Linked DNA regions of Homo sapiens: region 1 is linked to region 2. The links are contacts of gene promoters, found by promoter capture Hi-C in blood cells and fetal thymus (Javierre and others, 2016). All regions are on one chromosome and are shown on one strand. Each heading gives the region's core, a stretch centred on a gene start or on the middle of the fragment in contact. The rest is flanking DNA. Distances are from core to core; before and after follow the strand shown. Region 1 has its middle 150 kb from the start of SMIM23. Region 2 holds the start of SMIM23 (small integral membrane protein 23).

The links. Contacts are between HindIII fragments. The CHiCAGO score rates a contact against its expected background, and 5 or more counts as called.
Region 1: a fragment that was not itself captured here is called in contact with the fragment with the promoter of SMIM23 in region 2 in 1 of 17 cell types (endothelial precursors); the score reaches 6.3 in endothelial precursors.

What each region holds. Positions count from the first base shown.
Region 1 is chr5:171,635,499-171,642,597 of GRCh38, reverse strand. No RefSeq gene overlaps it. Among named protein-coding and RNA genes, the nearest start is that of SMIM23, 150 kb to the left of the region's middle. The HindIII fragment of the contact is 731 bases long and covers 3,096-3,826 here.
Region 2 is chr5:171,781,360-171,788,699 of GRCh38, reverse strand. SMIM23 (small integral membrane protein 23) reads right to left here and starts at 2,883. Exons shown (of 4, transcript NM_001289970.2): 1 at 2,724-2,883. The coding sequence starts at 2,828. RefSeq lists an enhancer at 6,704-7,340. The HindIII fragment of the contact is 8,257 bases long and covers 1-6,630 here.

The DNA of each region.
Region 1 (7,099 bases), core at 2,212-4,711, 150 kb after region 2:
TGTGAGAGCCACTGAGATTTGGGAGTATCTGTTACTGCAGCATAACCTAACTTACTGCAGTTAATAGTCACTATAATGTGGGCATGTAAGTTAAGGAAGAGTCTCTCAAAATGACTCAAATTAGTTTGCTTCCAGATTACCCATGGCGATGAGGGACACAGCCTACTTACCTGCTAAAAAACCCTTTGCCCTGCCTTTCCTGGCCTTGTTTTCTGGCCTGGTCTTCTCCTCCAAGCCTGGGGCAGACTTCTGCTGAGTCCTTTCTGATTCCTGCTCACAGAAGGGAGACCTTCTGGGGTCTGGGGAGTTTTCATGTCCTACCCATGACCTCCTACCCACCCCATGTACTCCTGCACCTGCTCAGGCCTCAGTACCCCTCACCTGGACCACAAAACTCCTCTCTGGCCTCCTTGTTCCAAGTCCTCCCCTTCCTGTCCATTCTCCACACTGCCCTTTGGTGGTTTGTCCAAAACACTACAGTAATTAGGTCACTCACTGCCTAGAACCCTCCATGGCTCCCTTTTGCCCTCAGGATAAAGACCAAGTTCCATAACTGAGCTCTTCTGGATCTCATGCCTTCAAAACTTAGTTGAAATGTTCCCTCTTCCCTGACTGTTTGCACTCTCACACACAGTTTTGTAATTTCATTGTTTACACATCAATATCCCCCACTAGACTGTAGGCAACTTCAAGGGCAACATGAGTGTTGAGTCCAGAATTTGATCATAGTAGGCAATGAAGGAATGTTTGTTGAGTAGATAAATAAATAAATTATCTAAATTGAGTTCTAGTTCTTCTGTCAACTGAGTGTATGATTCTGGGCAGTTTATTTCTCCCTCTGAGACTCAATTTCCTCATCTGTAGATTAGGGTGAATAAGGTTTTCCTTGCCTATTACATTAGCTATAGTTTTTAAACTCCAGGCCCTTTTGGAGGACAGAATATTTGCAATTCCAGGGGATGTGGGACCACAGCATACCATGTCTGAGGATTTTGGGGGAGAGTAATGAGATAATTGATGCAAAAATGCTTTGGAGCCTGTACAAAGTTAATGGATTGTTGTTCAGACCCAGTCCCTGCCTTTGGAGCTTACATTCTAGAAGGGAGATAGAAACACATGGGGTGCATTCTCTTATCACCCACCCTAGTCCATGGCAGGTATTACAAATCATTCACTGCACTTTAAGCAGGCATCTCCAATTGATTCATATCGAACTGGGAGATACAATCTATTTGCCATTCTGGCTACAGAAGGAGAAACAATCTTTCCAATCCCAGACAACCATGTTAAGTGCCTCATTGACCCCAGAGAATCAAAACCTCAGCCTCTGTTTATTGAGCACTGGCTTCAAGCCTGGTCCTCTCCCCACATAATCTCTTCCAATCTTCATGACGATCCTGCAAGTCAGAGACTATTTACTCCCATTCTCCCCTTTCACAGACCAATCTCTGAGACCAATACCTGGGGCTGCTGACCCCAGTCCACCCATTTGAGCCTGGGTCTGTCTCCAAAGGACACGCTCTTGCCACCCTTCCACACTACCTCTCTCAAACAGGAGTGCAGCAGGTCAGGCACGGGCCACAGATATCAGTGGAGCCATCCACAGGGCTGTAGAGAGAACTAACACCCAGCTACACCTTTTCCGGCAGGAATTTTTTGTTCCTGCTGTATTCAGAGGGCCTGCCAGGACTGGAGTCTGTCTGTTGGGAAAGGCGGCTCATGCTATTTTGATATTGAACCCATGTCCACGGGCCCAGTGATGGACAAGCCTTTTACACATCTCACAAATAAAACTCACAGAGTCATTTTCAGCTTGGCCCGAGCTGTGGGCACAGCCCCAGAGGACTTGGCTCTGCTAATTCTCTCATCAGCCTAATAGGAGAACAATTATCACAGTCAGGATACAAATTTAGCTCCAGACACTTCTCTGGGAACTCAGAGGGCTTGTGACTTATGGCTTCATTTTAAAGAGGAGCAGATTGTTGACATGAACTCTGGGTAGTTCTCATTTTTCTCGAGGAACTAAGCTGTACTTGCTGTTAATGGTAGAATCATTAGGTCATGGCTGAGGTCCACAAGAGGATAGGAAACCCAGCAGCTTGGATGTAGGCTGAGCTCTCTATAATTAACCTAATAGCCTGTTTATTTGACTATCTCAATTACAGACTCATTTAAATAGCATTAAAAATAAAAGATGAGCCCCAGGAGCAGCAGAAGAAACATAAGGATGCTCTTTTGTCCAAGATTTCATAGGACACTATTTGAATGCATAAAAAGCCACTGATAGAGCAGCCACCAGGAAAACTTTCTTTAAAAAACTTTAAATTGAGGCAAAAAAAATGCAAACATGAGCAAGACTGAGCACCCGCAGGCATGTTTTATAGCGAAGTCAAATGATCAGGGTTTGGATGTCAGCTCTGCCAGGGGTTGGATGAAACTTGTGCGAGTCATCTAATCTCTGGAAACCTCACTCTCCCCCTTGGAGGATCCATGGAAAGGGGTCAGCTGATATGGATTACCATCATAGCTAACACATCTTGAGCATTTATGTGCCAGGCATTGTTATACACCCTTTATTTACAGTAACTCATTTAGCTCTTACAGTTCCACGATGAAATAAGTGGTATTATCATCTTCCATTTTACAGACGAGGAAGCCGAGGCACAGAATAGTTAAGTGACAAAACAATGCTCAAGGTACCAGTGTGTGGAGTGTGGAAGCTGGGATTTGAAAGCAGGCAACCTGGCCCCAAAGTCTATGTGCATAACCTCTAGTCTACCCTGCCCTGGGAAGAACCTGCACCACCAGAGGCCTTCAAAACATGATTAAGTTGAATCTATTTCTTTTTCTTTGTGTTGCAAGCGTGGCTTTCCGATGGTTGTGCACATTTTTCTATCTGATATAAATAGCTTTTTTATTTTTCTCCCTCTGTCCCCGCTCCAAATATCAGTCAATACTGGAGAGAAAATAACTGTTTCTGGTTCATGGTGACAAGGTCAAGGCTCCTTTGGAGAATGCTTGTTGGTGCTGTCTCCGTCCTGGGCTGAGAAATCACGGCATTTATTTTAAGCTGAAACTTTCTTATATTTAAAGCTTGTCATCAGGCTGAAGTTTGTTTATTGCATTCCATAATTATGATGAATATATTTTAAATAGAAAAAGATTTGAAATGTAGGACAGCTGCAAAAAATATGGTGTCAATCACTGAGAATCAGCCCACATCTGGAGTTAGAACTTGGGTGGGAATGGCTTGTTTTGCATTTTTATGACCAGATGCATCCAGATTAGATGTACCTTATAAACTTCACCCAGACAACTGTCAGGGCCAATCAGCCTTAATTGAATGCGACATTTTCTCCACCAATCCGCCCTGAGCCCAGGCCAAGAATCCCCCCTGTATCACGCACAGGCCCTGTGTGAGCTCTGCTCGCTGTGCACATCGGATCTGTCAAACACAGGCCAAATTAAATACTGGACTTCATTCCACAATGACTTCCAATTAGGGCAGAATGAAGTCCGGAGGGCTTTGAATGCCCCCCTTGGCCCTGTTACTTGGAGACACAATCAGTGGAAAAAGGGGAGCCAAGAGGTCTGCTGCACCCCCATGCTGTGCCCTGTGCATTGTGCACTTAATATGTGCCAGCCTCATGCATTGAGCACTTACTGTATGCCAGTGATCACGCCTGGCCCCTTACATACACCCTCCCTCTTAGTCCTTCCAACAGCCCTGCAAGGTGAACACGACGCTCCCACTTGACAGGCCAGGAAATGGAGGTTCAGAGAGATGAATGGAGGTTCTGGCCCAAGTTTGCAGGCCAGGAAAGCTTGAATATTCTCATCAGCCACCTTCATTTGGCTAATGGTGGTTGTCAAACTCCCATGGGGACATTCAGACGCATGGGAGGGCATTTTGGTTTGTTCCAATGACTGGAAGGGCATTACTGGCTTCAGTGCCAGGGACCCGGGAATGCTAAACCTCTTGCGACGGGGAACAGAGCCAAAGAGTGAAGAACGGTCGCCTTATCCCCCAACCCTCGCTCATCTATTATCTCTTGATCTGATCCCACACAGGCTGGCACCTAAAATTAGGGAGTATATCATTCAGTTTGCAAATCAGGAGGCTTTGAGAATATTTTCTTATTCCAGATTTCCCAAGACATCGTGTGTTGATACATAACTAACCCTCAAGTGCCAAAGATTGTAACGGAGAAGGGGAAAGAGGACAAGAGGAGAGAAGGGGGAGGATTTCATCTGTTCCAAGGGAATATCTAGTAAATATCACCCCTCAAAATTATTATCAAGGTCATCATTATTACCTCTAAGGTTTGCAAATCAAGGCCGAATTCTACTACAGGTGTGTGTGAACAATAAAATCTTCACAATCTAAGATTTCTACTTCCCAAACTAGAACTAGGGGAGTCTCTTAAAGGAGTAATCAATCATAATAAGAAAAATACTGTCTCATGCTCCAGCTCCTATTCCATGAGCTTAACTTATGTCATCTCCAATCCTTACAGGAATCCTGTGATGTGACAGCTATTATTCTGGCCTTTGCAGAGATGAAGAAACTGAGGCTCAGAGAGGTTAAGGGACAGCCCAAAGTCACACAGCTAGCAGGAGGCAGAGCCATATTTTGAGTCTGATTCAATGAACTGGACCCATTTTCTGAACCTTGAACTCCAAGGAAATCATAGCTAGTTTTGGTGACGAAATGCAAACCAAAAGTGTTGTTTTTTCTTAAAATCACCTCTTGAACTGGTTTGAATGAAAATCCAAAATGAACATGTACTTAACTATTAAACCAGAGAAGGACTGGAACATCAAAATATTGGCAAGACCAAGCATAAATGGAGGTCTCTCTCCACCAGCACGCCTGGTTTTAACAAGTACCATCATTTGTGTCTAGTTCTGGGTAACAAAGAGATTTCCACAAGTCAGCAGCCTACGATGAAAGGATGTTGCTGATCTGGTTACAACAAACTCTATTAAGTAAAAAAATTCCATCTGACAGAGGTTTTCATCAGTCCCTCTCCCTACTGGAGACACTCTCCTCAATAAGAATATGAGTTTGGGATTTGTCTTTTTGTGAAATGAAAATGAAATTAACCAAGAATTTACAAAAAGCTTTCACTCACCAAGGTTGCAAACTCAGAGGCCTCCAGGGGCCAGCCAGGTGAGTGGAATAAATGGAGTCTGAGCATGCTGTGCAATAGGGAGTGGTGAGGACTGTGGCAAACTGAAGAGCCCATGCTGGGGCCAGCTGCAACTCAACTCCAGTCATTTATTTCATAGTGACACTAGATCGGCAGGTTTTTTGACTTTTCAAGGGAATATGGGATTTTGGTATAAAGTTTCCTGGTAGTGGAAGGTTGATAACAAATTTAAAAATAAATTATATAAGACAAACCAAAAATGCCTGTGTCCCAAAGTCACCTGTGGGCTGCCGATTTATGACCCCTGACACCTCACACCTCCTTGATCCTCACAACGGCTATGAGGGTGGGCACCATGAGCATCGTCATGTAACGGTGGAAGAAATGGGTTCAGAGAGAGCAGCTATCACGCCCAAAGCCACACAGTGGACTCTCTCATGGAATGCAGAGGCACTGGGTACCAACGACCTCACTTCAAATTGGTATGTGGGTACTAATGACCTCACTTCAAATTATCTAAAGACTTTGACAAATTAAACAAAACCCATGTTGGTATTTGTTCTTCCAAAAGCCATCCCTCTTCCCACTTCTCCTCTGTGTGTCTTGAGTCTCCCTCTGCCTTTTTCTTATAAGGACACCTGTCATTGGATTTAAGGCCTACCTGGATCACCCAGGATGAATTCACCTCCAGATCTTTAAGTTAGTAACAACTGCAAAGACCCTTTCCCTGATTACAGTCACATTAGCAGGTTCCAGGGGTTAGGACATGGACATATCTTTGGGGGGACAGCCACCATTCAACCTACTACATATTCCTTCTCCATTTATCTGCCTCTTAAATTTAAATTTGTGTTTAAATTCAGGACTCCCAACCTGCTATATGATGGTGGCACCCCAATATAAATAGCCTGCTGGGATGGTGGAGTCCTCAGGAGAGGGAAACCCCTCACCCAGATGACTAGCTGATGCCCTTCCTGTACTGTTGATTGTCTTAAATGACTAATGGTGTGAAATGATAGTGTCCAGCCAGGCACAGTGGCTCACACCTGTAATCCCAGCACTTTAGGAGGCCAAGGTGGGTGGATTACTTGAAGTCAGGAGTTTGAGACCAGCCTGGTCAACATGGTGAATCCCCGTCTCTACAAAAATACAAAAATTAGCCAGGTGCGGTGGCGCATGCCTGTAATCCTAGTTGCTCGGGAGGCTGAGGCATGAGAATTGCTTGAACCCGGGAGGCGGAGGTTGTAGTGAGTGGAGATCACGCCATTGCACTTTAGCCTGGATAACAGAGTGAGACTCTGTCTCAAGAAAATAAAAGAAAAAAGAAAAGAAAAGAAAAGAAAAGAAAAGAAAAGAAAAGAGAAAAGAAAAGAAAGGAAAGGAAAGGAAAGGAAAGGAAAGGAAAGGAAAAGAAAAGATAGTGTCCTATTTGCATTTTTCTAGGAAAACATCCTTCTAGACTCCCAGAAAGAAAAGCCATGACACTGTGGCACTGGGATGATGGGTCCAGTGCTTGCCAGCGAGCAGCACAGCCTGTCCAAATTAGACTACTTTGCAGAGGGAAGTGCTTCAGAAAGCTAAGGCTCTCTCGCTTGGGTCTACTGGTATCAAAAGTCACCAGCCCAAAGAACAGTATTTGAACAGCTCAAAAGTATTATCTTCAAAAATTGCACATATACAATACTGGACTGATAAGAAAGTTCCCTCCAGTTTCCTTCTGGGAAAACGCCCTAGTAGCCATGTTTGTTACTGACAGGCAATGACGGGTTTTCCTTTCCCCTTTCTTGCTGCTCATGCACTCTTAACTAATTGAAGGAGCCCAGCCAGCAATAGAAAACAGTACGTTACAAGCAACCAGCTGAAAAGAAAGGTTTTATCTTTCAATCAACAGGAGATTTTTTAATAGGGGGAGGACACACAGGAAGCAAGCATTCTGGGAAACAGCT
Region 2 (7,340 bases), core at 1,634-4,133:
TGGTGAAAACTTTTGGGCCTGTAGTTATTAAGACTATTTCTTCTTGAGTCAATTTTGTAAGTTGTACTGCCAAGGAAGATTTGTCCATTTCACCTAAGTTAAATGTATTGGCATCAAATTGTTCCTAATATTACCTTAATATTCTTTTAATGCCTGTAAGAGTCATGATAATAATCCTCTTTTATTCTTTTTAAAAAATATATATAAAGAAAAGAGGTCAAGAGAGGAAACAAGAGACCTCTTTCATTCTTGATATTGGTAACTTGTGTTTTCTTTCTATGTATGTTTTTTGTTGAGTCTATTTAGAAGTTTTCCAATTCTTAATTTAATTTTACCAATTAAAAATGGTTATTAATTTTATTGTTTGTCTGCTTTACATTTCATTAATTTCTGATTTTGTCTTTATTATTTATTTCTTTATACTATTGAGTTTAATTCTTCTTTTTCTGCTAATGTGGAAATTTTGACCATGGCTTTTAAAGTTTTCTTGTTTTTCAAATATGTGTGTGTGTGTGTGTGTGTGTGTTTGTGTGTGTGTGCATATTGACTGACATTGAATTTTCCCCAAACTCACTAGATGTTGGCTGAGTCAGATCTAGTTTGCCTTAAAGAAAGAATAAATTTCTTACACACCCAAGTATGTGAAGTGACATTTAGACCCAGTACTAAACAAGGAAGATGAAAGATGTGTCTAACTTGCCTCTTCCCCAGATAATTTTCTTTATAATACTAGCAACTACATTACTATTAACTTAAAAAAAAAATGTTACATAGCAACAACTGGTTGAGTTTCACAGACACAATGATAAGAGAAAGAAGTCAGACACAAAGGTATACATGGTATGATTCCATTTACATGAAATTCAAGAACATAGAAAACTCAGCTATGATGACACAAATCAGAATCACTGCTATGAAGGGTGGGATGCCAGGTGGGCGGAGCCCCAAAAGAGCCTCCCTCAGTGCTAGAAATGTTCCATAGTTTGATCTGTGTGTACACCCAATGCAAAATCATCACACTGTACATGTAATATTAGGGTCCTTTTTCTTTTCTTAACAATATTCTTTAGGAATCTTTTCATGGAAGACACACACTAATTGTCACAATCTTTAAAATGGCTGATGAGTTTTCGTGGCCTGGAAGCTCTTCTATGTGTCTAACCAGTCCTCTATCAATGTATTTTACAGGTTGATTTCTTCCCCGGCATTCTTGCTGCTGGTTTCCATACTGTGCTGCATGGAGGCAAAGGGAGGAACATGGACTAGGATTGAGTTTGAGTCCTTTTCCTTGTGTCGTCTTGGGGCCTGAGCCAAATAATTTCTCTGAGCCTCAGTTTCTTCATCTGTAAAATGGATTTTGAAATACACTGCAAAGTCTTTCAAAAAAGAAGAAGTGGCTCACACCTGTAATCCCAGCACTTTGGGAGGCGGAGGCGGGTGGATCATGAGGTCAGGAGTTCGAGACCAGCCTGGCCAATATGGCGAAACCCTGTCTCTACTAAAAATACAAAAATTAACTGGGTGTGGTGGCGGGCGCCTGTAGTCCCAGCTGCTCGGGAGGCTGAGGCAGTAGAATCACTTGAACCCAGGAGGAGGAGGTTGCAGTGAGCCAAGATCGCACTGTTGTACTCCAGCCTGGTGACAGAGCGAGGCTCCGTCTCAGAAAAAAAAAAAAAAAAAAAAAAAAAAAAAAAAGGAAACAATGGGACTCTGGTAGAATCAAGGTGGGAAATGCTGTGGTAAACAAAGCTATGCAGACTTCTTTGTTGCAGGACTTCTCAGAGCCTTCCTTACGTGAATGAGCAGCGTCAGTCTTCAGGAGGGGATGCGGGTATGCAGCCTTCCCCAAGCCACAGAATTCTGTAAAGAATGTTTCTAAAAGGAGCATTCCTGGGGTCTGGTGTCTATGGAACACTTTTTAGGAAAAGCCGCAGCATGATGGGTGCCCATGAAGGCCCCTGTTATACGCTACAAGGTCCAGCATATAGAAGGCGCTCGGTGCATGTATAGTAAATTAATGAGTGAACAAGTCTTTTGAAAACAGAGACAGCAGAGCTCATTCATTCATTGCTCTGCTTAAAACCCGTCAACAGCTTCTTCTTATCCTCAGAATAAACCCTTGCTCAGGGTTCTCATAGCAGATGAACCTGGTTTCAGGGAGTTCTAAAATCAGATGGATGTGTTTTCAAATCCTGATATGTCCCAGTTGTACGGCCCTTTTGCCTTTCTGGGCCTCAGATTACCCTCTGTGAACGAGGTTGATAGCATCTAAGAGATGGGGTGTGGATGCACCAGGCTGTGTGCAGCAAGCATTAATGTTTTCCATTTTGACGAAATCCCACATGAGTTTTGAATTTCAGCCCTGAGAATGAATCCTCCAGGAGCGCTCCAATTCAGGAGTATTATCAGTTCATTCGTTCATTCAGCATCTACTTGGCACCAAGCACCATGCTAGGCACTAGGGATTCAGCAGGGAACTAAACAAAAAGCCCAGTCCTCCTGGAACATACCTTCTGCTGGCAGTGCTGAGAATTTAATAAGACAGTGTCAGTGATGGCCCCGGCAAGAAGTGCCTAGGCCCCTAAACTGTGCTCCATCAGAGTGGGATCCAGGGACGGTTGGGTCCAAGATTCATTCCGGGCTTTGAGGGACTTCTAGTCTGTCTGGAGTGGCAAAAGGAGCCCAGATGGGAGGAAAGCAGCATGTACCTGGCCTGGCCTCACCTGCTTCTCGTCATCACAGTGGCTGCCCCTTCTCCGTTCAAGCAGCTGGGCTGCCACCTGCTCTGCTGCCACCTGCCTTCTGCTGTCCACTTGCTGGGTTGCCATGGCCTCAGATCTGGCTGCCTGGGTGGACCACACTCAACAGACAGAAGGGCACCCTTCCCCTCCCCCACCTGTGGTCACCAGGCATCCTGCAAACATTGAGTTCTGATGTCACAGAAGGTAGGGACAGCAAGGTTCCCACCTTTCCACCACCCTGATTTTTAGTCCCTTCCCTCATTTTTATTTTTCACATGAGTGTAGAAAACAAAGATCAGGAAGAAATGCATCAAAAGATTATGTTTCAGGATGATGATTTTTCTGATTATTTTCTTCTATATTTGCAAGTTTTTAATAAAAATGCTAATTCTAAAATATAAAAACAATAGTTTGGGTGCAGTGGCTCACACCTGTAATCCCTAGCACTTTGGGAGGCTGAGGCTGGAGGATTGCTTGAGTCCAGAAGTTTGAGACTAGCCTGGGCAACATGGTGAGACCATGTCTCTATTTTTAAAAAATTACAAAAAAAAAAAAAACAATAAAAGCTATTTTTAATTGAAAAATGTATGGAGATAATTGTGGATTCACATGCAGTTGTAAGAAACAATACAGAGAGATCCTGTGTACCCTCTATGAATTTTTCCCCCAGTGGTACAGTAATATCCTGCCTCACTGCAGTAGGAGATCACAGCCTGGATGTGGACATTGATACACTCTACCAATCTTACGCAGACTTCCCCAGTGTTACTTGTTCTCATTTGTGTGTGTGTGTGTGTGTGTTTAATTCTAAACAATTTTGTGTAGGTTTGCTTACTTAGGACAATAGTCAAGACACAGAAGAGTTTCAAAACTACAAGGGGCTTTGTGCTGCTTCGTGATGGCTGCTGCCTCCCGACCCCACCCACACTGTCCTTAACTCCTGGAAATCACTCATCTGCTCTCTCTTTCTAAAATTTGTTTATTCCAAATGCTACATAAATGGAATGAAACAGTATTTAACCTTTGGGGATTGGCTTTAAAAAAAAACATAGTATAATTCCCTGGAAATTCATCCAATTTGTTGCATGTATCAGTAGTTCATTCTTTTTGACTGCTGTGTAGTATTTTGTGATATGTGTATGCCATAATGAAGGACACGTTCCAAACCTGTTCAAAACCCAGCTGCCTCCAGTTTTTGACTCTTGCGAGTAAAGGTGATATGAACATGCTTGTACATGTTTTTGGGTAAACGTAAGTTTCATTTGTCTGGGATAAATGCCTGAGAGTGCAGTTGCTGGGCCATAGCATCATGGCATGATAGTTTTATAAGAAATTGTCAAACTGTTTTCCAGAATGGCTGTGCCATTGTACATTCTCATTAACAGTGTATGAGTGATTTGGTTTCTCCTCATCCCCACCAATATCTGTTTACACTATTTGTTCTTTTTTTTTTTGAGACAGAGTCTCACTCTGTCGCCCAAGCTGGAGTGCAGTGGCACGATCTCGGCTCACTGCAAGCTCTGCCTCCCGGGTTCACGCCATCCTCCTGCCTCTGCCTCCCGAGTATCTGGGACTACAGGCACCCGCCACCACACCCGGCTAATTTTTTGTATTTTTAGTAGAGATGGGATTTCACCGTGTTAGCCAGGATGGTCTTGATCTCCTGACCTTGTGATCCGCTTGCCTCGGCCTCCCAAAGTGCTGGGATTACAGGCGTGAGCCACTGCACCCGGCTGTTTTCACTATTTTTTAATTTAACCATTTTGACAGGTGTTTAGTAACATCTCATTGTGGTTTTAATGTGTATTTCCCTGATAGCTAATGATGTTTAACATCTTTTCTTTTTTTTAAATTTTATTAAGCAATTTTTTATTATTTTGCTGGAGACAGTGTCTTGCTATGTTTCCCAGGCTGGTCTTGAACTTCTGGGCTCAAGCAATCCTCCCACCTCGGGCTCCCAAAGTGCTGCGATTACCGGTGTGAGCCACCATGCCCTGCCCGAACGTCTTTTCATATTAGCTTATTTGCCATCTGCACCCCTTCCTCAGTGGAACATTTGTTCCTGTCTTTTGCCCATTTACTAATTGGATTGGTTTTGCTACAGTTGAGTTTTGAGACAGTTCTTTGCTCATTTTAGATACTAGTCCTTCTTAGGATATATGGTTTGCAAATTATTTTCTCCCAGTCTGTGGCTTATCTTTTCAACTTCATCACATGGACTTTTGCAGATAAAATGTTTTATGTTTTGATCCAGTCTATCACTTTTTCTTTTATGAATTGTGCTCTTTCATGGCAAGTCTAAGAACTCTTCACCTAGCCCTAGGTTCCGAAGATTTTCTCCTATTTTTGTTTTTTTGGTTGTATAGCTTTACGCTTCACATTTCAGCCCATGATTCATTTGGAATCAATTTTTGTATAAAGTGTGGAGTTTAAGGTTAATTTTTTTGCTTATGGATGTCCAGTTGCTCCAGGACCATTTGTTCTGTATTCTGTTTCATTGATCTATGTATCTGTCCCTGCATCAATACCACACTGTCTTGACTGCTGTAGCTTTACGGTGAGCCTTAATAGCAAGTAGAGTGATTTTTCCCACTTTGTTTTTCTTTGTCAAGATTGTTTCAGCTCTCACAGGGCTTATGCCTTTCCATATAAACTTCATAACAAAATACTTTGCCAGCTGGGATTGTGATAGGAATTGCATCACACCTATGAATCACTTTGGGGAGAATTATCATATTTACTATGTGGTGTCTTCTATCCCAGGAACACAGTATGCTTCTTCATTTATTTAGGTCTTCCGTTTCATTTGTTTTTTAACCAGCACTTTGTAATTTTTGGCATATAGCTTTTGTACATGTTTTGTTAGGTATATACCTAAATATTTCATATTCTTTGGACTTTCCTTATACTTTAAAAGCCCCCATGTGCCAAACAAATTTCATGTGTTAAGAAATCATCAATGTTCCACATTTTGTGAATTAACTTTACCAAAGTTCCACATACAGAGCTCTGACTGGCACCCAGATAACTTACATACGGAGGCCGGCTATACACTAGGCATTTCACTAGATTACTTTACTACAGCTTCTCTAGGCTATTAATTCTGTGGGTAGTGGGGAATTAAATCTGTCTTACTAAACATTGCATTTCTGATGCCCCTTACGCAGCCCGTTACATAGTAAATGTTCAGTAAAAATACCTGTTGAAAGGATGAATAATGAACGGTCTCAAACTGCAGGCTCTGAGAGGCCAGGAACTTTGTCTGGTGAATACATTTTTGTATTCACAGTACTTGGCTCAGTAAATATTTGCCGAATGAGTAAAGCAGGTGGTATGATTTTTACGTTTTGAAGAAGCCGAGGTCCGGGGTGGCTAGGGAAGGGTATCGGAATTAGTGGGTGTCATGAACGAAGTACCTACTGTGCGCCTGACCCAGGGTAAGTCCCTTCCACACGTTATTTCATCTAATTCTCCTAACTGCCCGGCAAGGCCGGCACTGTTAGTTTCTGTTGGGAACGTTACTCTCCTTACCCAGTGGCACATACCCTGCCTTAGTATGGGTCTATTTAACTCCAACGTCTTCTCGTTTACCACAAGGAGTTAATGTAGTTTCAGCTAAAAACAAAGAAAGTGGCCATTCTTGTCTTTTGTGGCTTCACTGTCCGTAAGTAGATGTGAGATTTCCATTAGACTTTTTGAATATCCAACATAACCATCTTCCCTCCTGTCCTTCTGTGTCCAGAGTTTGTTCCTTTAGTGGCTTCACCGTCTCGCTGACTTCAAGAATGAAGCTGCAAACCCTCACGGTGAGTGTTACAGCTCTTGAAGGTGGTGGACCGAAAGAGTGAGCAGCAGCAAGATTTACTGTGAAGAGCGAAACAACAAAGCTTCCACAACCTAGAAAGGTACCTAAGCAGGTTGCCACTGCTGGCTGCAGAGGCCAGCTTTTATTCCCTTATTTGTCCCCGCCCACATCCTGCTGATTGGTCCATTTTACAGAGTGCTGATTGGGCCATTTACATCTTTTAACTAGACACAGAGCACTGACTGTGCATTTTTTACAGAGTGCTGATTGGTGCATTTACAATCCTTTAGCTAGACACAGAGTGCTGATTGGTGCTTTTACAATCCTCTAGCTAGACAGAAAATTTCTGGAAGTCCCCACTCGACCCAGGGAGTCCAGCTGGCCTCACCTCTCACTTCCAACTCCATGACTATCCCAGATTGGTGCGTGTGGCATTTCATGCAATCTCCACTCCTTTTTGCCTTTTCTGCATATCTTTATTATTATTACTAAAGCAGCTACGTTGTCTGGGATAAATATCCAGGGTTCGTCGTCTTATACCAGGTAAGTTTAGGACACGGACACACAAAATAGGCAAAAAGGGAGAAAGAAAAACAGCTCTAGAGACGGGGGGGGGCACTTCTCAGAGGAAAAGACCAGCCGGTGGTGGATGCACCAGAATTTTACAGTTAGGCTTGCGGAGGTGGTGTCTGATTTACATGGGGCTCACAGATTGGTTCCATGAGGTATGACAGTTACATAGCTGGGGAAGGCTAGCTGCCCCACCCTAATCTTATTATGCAAATGAACTTTCC